Regions from separate parts of the Homo sapiens genome. Here region 2 is linked to region 1. The links are contacts of gene promoters, found by promoter capture Hi-C in human tissues and cell types (Jung and others, 2019). All regions are on one chromosome and are shown on one strand. Each heading gives the region's core, a stretch centred on a gene start or on the middle of the fragment in contact. The rest is flanking DNA. Distances are from core to core; before and after follow the strand shown.

Evidence for each region. The method cuts DNA at HindIII sites, captures the fragments that hold promoters and counts their contacts. A contact is called where the count stands out against the background at its distance.
Region 2: a fragment that was not itself captured here is called in contact with the fragment with the promoter of P4HA3 in region 1 in 2 of the 25 tissues and cell types used here (IMR-90 fibroblasts and mesendoderm cells).

What each region holds. Positions count from the first base shown.
Region 1 is chr11:74,309,459-74,313,285 of GRCh38, forward strand. P4HA3 (prolyl 4-hydroxylase subunit alpha 3) reads right to left here and starts at 2,182. Exons shown (of 13, transcript NM_182904.5): 1 at 1,954-2,182. The coding sequence starts at 2,153. P4HA3-AS1 (P4HA3 antisense RNA 1) reads left to right here and starts at 1,904. Exons shown (of 7, transcript NR_120556.1): 1 at 1,904-1,991; 2 at 2,367-2,488; 3 at 2,661-2,761. The HindIII fragment of the contact is 9,884 bases long and covers 1-3,827 here.
Region 2 is chr11:74,557,608-74,561,434 of GRCh38, forward strand. No RefSeq gene overlaps it. Among named protein-coding and RNA genes, the nearest start is that of POLD3, 33 kb to the right of the region's middle. The HindIII fragment of the contact is 3,664 bases long and covers 109-3,772 here.

The DNA of each region.
Region 1 (3,827 bases), core at 932-3,431:
GACCAGCAGGGGGATTTTGACCCCCCACTCCCGTCTCCATCTGAGCTACCCAAAGAGATTACTGGTATGAGAACAAGCATGGGTAGCAGGGAGAATGCTGGGCTCTGAAATCAAAGAGAAAAAATTCTGTCCTATTTCCACTAATAAGCTTGGACTCCAATGACTCTGGGCTATGAACAAAAAGAAAACATTTGGCTCGGTCAACATGGACCCATAGAATACTAGACAACTATGCTATTCCAAAGAGTGACAATAATTATTGAAATGATCTTCATTTATTGTTAAAATTAATACATACCTATATTGTATATTGTCACACTATTTCAAGCTGTTTATACGCAAGCCACATACTTAAGGACAAGCACCACATTAGCTCATTCAGTCACTATTAACAAGATCTCTCGCAAATACTTTCCACCCACAAAATGCTTCTCTTCTACATAGCTCTCTCTCACAGTCATGGGGTCACAAAGTTTCGCACAGGGTGACAATGGGTTTGGGGGTCACACTGGACCTCAGAGTCACTCCCCATTCCACATACCTTCTTCTCATGTCACCCCAGAATCAGTATTATTACCACACACACTCACGCAAAGTTTTAAAAGCAGTGCATTGTGCTGTCTTTGCTCAATGATAAGGTCACATGATATAAGTACAATATTAATATATCCAAATAGTGACGTGGTCATAACCACTCTGTCAGTGTTGTAGGCTTCTTGATGTCCCAGGCAGAGAAGGCGCAGCACATATTCATACAGATGGTATCATATACAATCATTTATCTTTCATTTTTGTCAGTTGGACACTGCTAAGTCGATACATGACTATGGTGCCTCAGCATCCCAAGTCTGACAACCTTTTATGCCACAGTGTGTAGCACTAGAGTTTGTTGACTGTACCCCAAAACTATATTAGCTGAGCATCCACTGCTGTGTGCTACACTCAGTATCTTCTGCATCAAGTATGTTTTTTCACAGTGCTTTTTTGATATCAAATATGTTGACACACATATAACATCTCAGTTATCATTTATTTAGTATTTAGAGAGCTTCTACATGTGTAAAGAGAAGGAAGAACTGAAGACGTAGACGGCAGTGGACATCTCTGATTAACAGTCATGGTGCTACAGACCCAAACTCCTCGAGGGCAGAGTTGGCTCTTGATCACCATTTTATCCCCACTGCCTGGAACACTGCCTGGCTCTTAGTAGGCACTCAAAAATATGTGTTGTATGAATTAATGAACTGAAGCATTATTCATATAGCGACCTGTACAGTTACTCAGCATCATTCACATGCAGAGTATGATATCCACAGTGTCGTGCCCATCCAGTCCCAATGACATGTAAACCTCACATATGGTGGAAGACTGTCACCTGACTCCTAACACTAAACATCAGCTCACTAGGTCATGCGGTGTTTCACGATCCCCCCTTGAAAGGTCAATACTTGCGTAGCTAAAGCGTCACCGTATTCTCTCCATGTCACTCTCACAGTGTCTCTGTCACAGCACCGTCCACTGTGTCTGTGTCAGTGTGACACAGGGCCTGGGGCTCACACAGCTTTGCACAGCACATTGTGAGGTCCTAGAGTCACCCCGCCCCGCTCTTCCACAGTGTATCAACTTTGCTGTGTGACGCTGGATATGGGGGGTGCCACTATGTGTGTGATGGAGTCTGCAGTCCCAGTGTGACCCAACCCTCGCCAACACCTCATGCCACGGAGTGTCAGGGTCCCACACAGGGTGACAATGGGTCTAGGGGGTCACACTGGCCCTCAGAGCCACTCCCCACCCCATGCCACAATGTCTCAGTCGCACGGTGCGACAGTGGGTCTGGGGTCCCACGCAGCATGACAATGAGCCTGGGGTCACACTCAACCTGAGTCACCCCACCCTGCGGCACAGTGTATCCCACTGAGGCCCCTCGGTCGCTCCCACTCGTCGTGCCCTCACCTAGTCAGGTCCCGCAGCCGCGCCTCCTCCCCGCGCAGGTACCGCCTCAGCAGCCCCAGCAGCCGGCGCTCGGGCGCCAGGGCGCGCGCCACGCTGGTCAGCGCCGAGAACGTGTCGCCCCGAGCCGCAGCCCTTTCTGGGTCTCCTGTCCCGAGCGCCAGCACCGCCAGCAGCGCCGCCAGCCGCGCCCCAGGACCCATAGCCAGCGCTCGCGAACTTCCCCTCAGACAGTCCTGGCCGCGCGGCGGCAGCCGCTCCCGCCCTCGCCTGCCCCGCCCCTGTCTCCGCCCCCTCCCGGCTCAGGCCCCGCCCTCTGGCCCCGGCCCGGCCCGTCCCGTCCACCGCCCAGTCTCGCTCCACGCCCCCTGACTCCTTCCTTGTTTCGACGCCTCACCTCGCTCTCTATTCCTCAGCTCCTCGGAATGCGTGGGGGCTTCCTGCAACATCAGTCTCCGCCGCCCTCCACTAAATCGCGACCCTGGGAAGGTGTTTCCACTGTGCCCATCACACTAGGGGAAATTGAGGCGGAGGCAGGGTGAGCGATGAATTCACAGGTCTAAGGCTGTGACTATCCCCAAATATTGTTAACACCACGCTCACAGGATCCCCAAAATATCCGCCCCTCTGTACCATGGAGTGGGAATACACAAACACCACTGGATCCCCACAGGGACGTCCAGAAGAGTCAATTATGCGTATGTGAATAGGTGCGCAGGCAAAGAGCGGCAAGAGGACAGCTGGGAGGAAAACCCTCACAGAGAGCGTGACATCTGAGCCATCTGAAGGATAAGTAGGACTGTGTCAGGATGTGAGTATATGACAAATCTAGGACTTACAGAACCTGAAGCTCTGGGGTCCTAAAGTCACTGCTTTACACAATATACTTAGAGTCACTTAAGCAAATAAAAATATTATTATTATTATTATAGCCTACTAGGCTATGTACTCTATTTCCCCCCTCTTATGCATTTCCCAGGCAATGTTCATTCATGCAACAAATATTTATTAGTACCTGTGTTACTGTGCTGCCTACACAGAGAAATAGCAGATCCAATCCTGGACTCAAAGGAGGAGACAGTTATGTAAACAAGTAATCACAATAAAGTGCTGTCAGAGTAACTGAGGGTTGTGCAATATGCAATGGCAACACTGAAGAAGGAACCCTCATGTAGTGGGTGGAGAGGGCATCAGAGAGGAGGTGATGGGTGCTGGTTCAAAAGGATGAAAAAAATTGGAAGTTGACAGGCAAGGGAGGAGTGGGCTTTCCTGGCAGAAGGTACATGGGCGTGACAAGGTTTGGAGGTGGAAAACAGTTTGAGTTCCAGAAATGATGAAAAGTTTCTTGTGCTTGAAACTATCAGATTGTGAAAGGTCTTTGCATGTCATACTAAGAAATTTAGGTGCTTGTCCTCTATGAAAATCCAGTGGAAGTTTTTAAGGTAGCAATAATTGTAATAACAATGGCAACAGTAAACATAGTAGTTAATACTTACCGGGTGTTTCCTGTGTGGCAGTCGCCATCCAGAGTATTTTACATATATTAACTCATTTAATCGCTGTCCAGAGTATTTTACATGTATTAACTCATTTAATTCTCATGCTGACCCTATAGCCTAAGTAATATTAGTATTCTTACAGTATTATTGGCCCCACTTTACCGATGAGAAGACTGAATTGTAGGGACAATCATTAACCTACTCAGTGTTAATCACTTGTGGACCACATTCGAGGTGTGCTGGTAAACCAGCTCTCCAGGAAAAAAATAAAGTTCTGGTTTGTGGCATTTGCCAATTTCTGTGGTGTCAATTCTCCCACAGTGGCTAATTTCGACATGCAAAAATGTCACCACTGACTGTGGTTGGATAAAGATGCCA
Region 2 (3,827 bases), core at 691-3,190, 250 kb after region 1:
ACTGCATATGGGGGCATGTAAGTCTGCTAGGGCGCCATAACTAAATACCATGGACTGAGTGGCTTAAGACAACAGCAATTTATTTTCTCACAGATCTGGAGGCAGGAAGTCCAAGATCAGGGTGCCAGCATGGTCAGTTTCTGGGGAAGGCTCACTTCTTGGCTTGTAGTTGGTCACCTTCTTGCTGTGTCCTCACTTGGTCTTTCCTCAGTGTGTGTATGCAGAGAGAGAGAGTGAGCTCTGGTGTCTCTTCTTATAAGAACACTAAACCTATTGGGTCAGGATCTCGCCCTTGTGACATCGTTTAACCTTAATTACCTTCCAAAGGCCCCATCTCCAAACTGTCAGATTGAGGTTAGGGCTTCAACATGTGAATTTTAGGGGAACACAATCATTCAGTCCATAACAGAGGGCCATGCGACAAAGTATTTTGAGTGGCCTATAGGAGCTGAGAGTGGTCCCCGGCTGATAACCAGCAGGACAATGGTGACCTCAGTCCTACAACCATAAGGAACTGCATTCTGCCAATAACCAGTGAGCCTGAAGGAGAACCCTGAGCCCTATACATGACCAGCACTTTCAGTCCAGCCTGCTGAGATCCTGAGCAGAGAATTGAGTCATGCCCTACGTCGACTTCTGGTATACAGAAGCAGAAATAATAAATTTGTAATAAGTGGCTAAGTTTGTGATAATTGTTTATGCATCAGTATAAAATTGTTTATTATCAATACAAAAATAATATAAATTTTATAATATATATTTTTAAGGAAAAAATACAAAATTACAAATACAAAATCTGTGAGACTAAAGAGGTCTGTAAGTGAGGAACCCTGAAATTTAAGCTTCATTAGTTTCAAGGTAAGTCTGTCTCTGCCTCCAAGAAGGAGAGAAGATGAAGGAAAAAGAGTGTCAACTACAATACGATGTTGCTGTTTTGGGCAGGACAAATGCCCAAAACCAATTCTATCTCTTTGAAAGGCTTTAGGGGAACCTTTAAGGGATCCTCCCTTGGAGCCCCCAACTATACTTCCCTTGAGAAGCAAAGCTTCTCCTCTGGCTTGGCTCCTGAACTTTAGCAGTCCATCTTCTCTGTTGGGGTCCCAGTGCCCTCAGTGCAATTCTTTTGAGGACAGACCTGTTTTAGGAAGATCCTAGGTCAGATCCCTTCTTCCAGGTCTACCTCAGTTCCTAGGAAAAACCTGCTTTTGCCCCATGGCCAGTGGGAGAAGGGTTTGCTCTCAGCCCAACCATCTCTCTCTAGTCCTACAAATTCCATTCAGTCTCTAATATTTAAATTCCTCAAGAATATGTCAAACTCCATATCTTATGATTCCCAAACTTCAGTGCAACATGTCAAGCTCTCTGAGTGGTTTTCTTGAAGTCCCCAGTTTCCTTTGGCTTAAGGAAGGAGGAGAATATGGCTCCCCTCCCCTGTGTACCGATTGTCACCCAGTTATTAACAGAAAGAATAGGGATTCAGGAACCCTGAGCTCTAGTCTGGGTTCTGATACTAACTCACTGTGTGTCCTTGGGAAATGTCCTTTTCCATTTCGGGCCTTGCTTTCCTGACAGCTCACTTAAATGAAAATGTAGGACTAGATCCACTCATTTATTCAGTAAATGTTTATAGAGTCCCTATTACGTGTCAGGAACTGTCTGGGTATGAGGAATCATCAGAAAACAAACTAGCTGACTTCTCAGGCCCTACCAGCCCTCACATTCTCTGATGCTTCTCCCCCACCTAGTTCCCACTCACCCCTCAACAATGAGTGGTCAAGTTCTGGCTGCGATCATGACTGCTTTTCCACCTCAGCAGTGTATAGCCTCTTCTTGCAGGGATATTTATTTATTTATTTATTTATTTCTGACAGGGTCCTGCTCTGTTGGGTGCAGTAATGCGATCAGGGCTCACTACAACCTGGACCTCCTGGGCTCAAGTGATCCTCCTGCTTCAGCCTCCCAAAGTGCTGAGATTATAGGTGTGAGCCGCCATGCCCAGCCCACAGGGACCTTTGATGGGACTAGGGGTAAGCTTCCTTTGAAGGCAGCATTGCTGTTTTGGTTACTGCCCATCAACCTGGGCTGTCTGGCCTGGAAGTACTGCCTGGCCAACGACAATGGAAAGGTTTATTTGCAGAGGCCAGGAAGTCCCCATGACCCCTCTCCATTCACCTCTGAGACAGGAAGCCCCAGGAGGAAAAAACAAAAGATGAAATGCTGGCTGACTTCCCAGCTTCCAAGTGCTCAGCCGCACTCTGGACTGGAGGATCCCTTCTGCCCAGTGGACAGGGACCTCTTTCAGCAGCTCCTTCCTTGTCATTGATCCCCAGGGCTTCAGTTCCTGTCCTGAGGATCCAGAAGGACTTAGGTGACGTAAAAGAGGTATGAAATGAAGATTGAGTCTCTGGGAAAGGATGCATGATGTCTTATCCTAAGCTAAGCCTCCATGTCTGGGAAGTGGGGGGAGGCTGAATGCACAGAGTGGGAAAAATATTCTCAGTGGTTAAGGAAGCAAGTGACTCACCTGCTCTGACCTTCATCCATCCACTCCCATGGCCAGAGTGACTTCAGGGAGGAGGTGGGGTGGAAGAGATTTCCAAGTCTCGTTTTTTTTTTCTTGAGTTTTTTAAGACCTCTTACTTATGATGCCCCTTCCATCCATCACACTTCTCCCAACAGCTTAGCTAACCTGCCTGGAAAAAACAGTCATCAAAAAGCACACAGCATGCTAAGTAGAAAATGAAAAAGCAGGAGGTGCCTCCACTCTTCCAGCAGCTTTTCCACTGGGTTCTGTGCCTAAGGAGTTGCTCCCTCCAGTCCGCAGAGTAGCTGGAATGCATTTTCAAAATTCAACTTTAAAAACTGAAGTGGTCGGGCGCGGTGGCTCACACCTGTAATCCCAGCACTTTGGGAGCTGAGGTGGGTGGATCATCTGAGGAGCTCAAGACCAGCCTGGCCAACATGGTGAAACCCCGTCTCTACAAAAAATACAAAAATTAGCCGGGCGTGGTGGCAAGCACCTATAATCCTAGCTACTCGGGAGGCTGAAGCAGGAGAATCGCTTGAACCCGGGAGGCGGAGTTTGCAGTGAGCTGAGATTGCGCGACTGCACTCCACCCTGGGCAACAAGAGCGAAATTCCATCTCAAAACAAAAAACAAAATCAAAAACAAAACTGAAGTATAACATTCATAGAAAAGTACATAAATCATACGTGTACAGTTCAATAAATTTTGAGAAAGTGCACCTCCATGTAACCAACACTCAGGAGGAGAAATAGAACATGACCAGCAGCTCAGAAGCTCCTTTGTGCCTCCTTCCAGCCACTTCACCCTGCAAAGCTAAATGCTGTCCTGAATTCTAACGTCAAAAATTAGATTTGCCTGTTTTTGAACTGTTAAGTAGAATCACATAGTATGTGTTCTTTTGTGTCCAACTTCTTTTTTTTTTTTTTTTTTTTTTTTGAGACGGAGTCTTGCTCTGTCACCCAGGCTGGAGTGCAGTGGCGCTATCTCGGCTCACTGCAAGCTCTGCCTCCCGGGTTCACGCCATTCTCCTGCCTCAGCCTCCCAAGTAGCTGGGACTACAGGTGCCCACCACCACGCCCGGCTAATTTTTTGTACTTTTAGTAGAGACGGGGTTTCACCGTGTTAGCCAGGATGGTCTCGATCTCCTGACCTCGTGATCCGCCCACCTCGGCCTCCCAAAGTGCTGGGATTACAGGCCTGAGCCATCGCGTGTCCAACTTCTTTCACTCATAATAGGTTTGTGATATTCACCTTAGTTGTTGCAGGTAGCATTCTCACTGCTGTATAGTATTCCAATGAT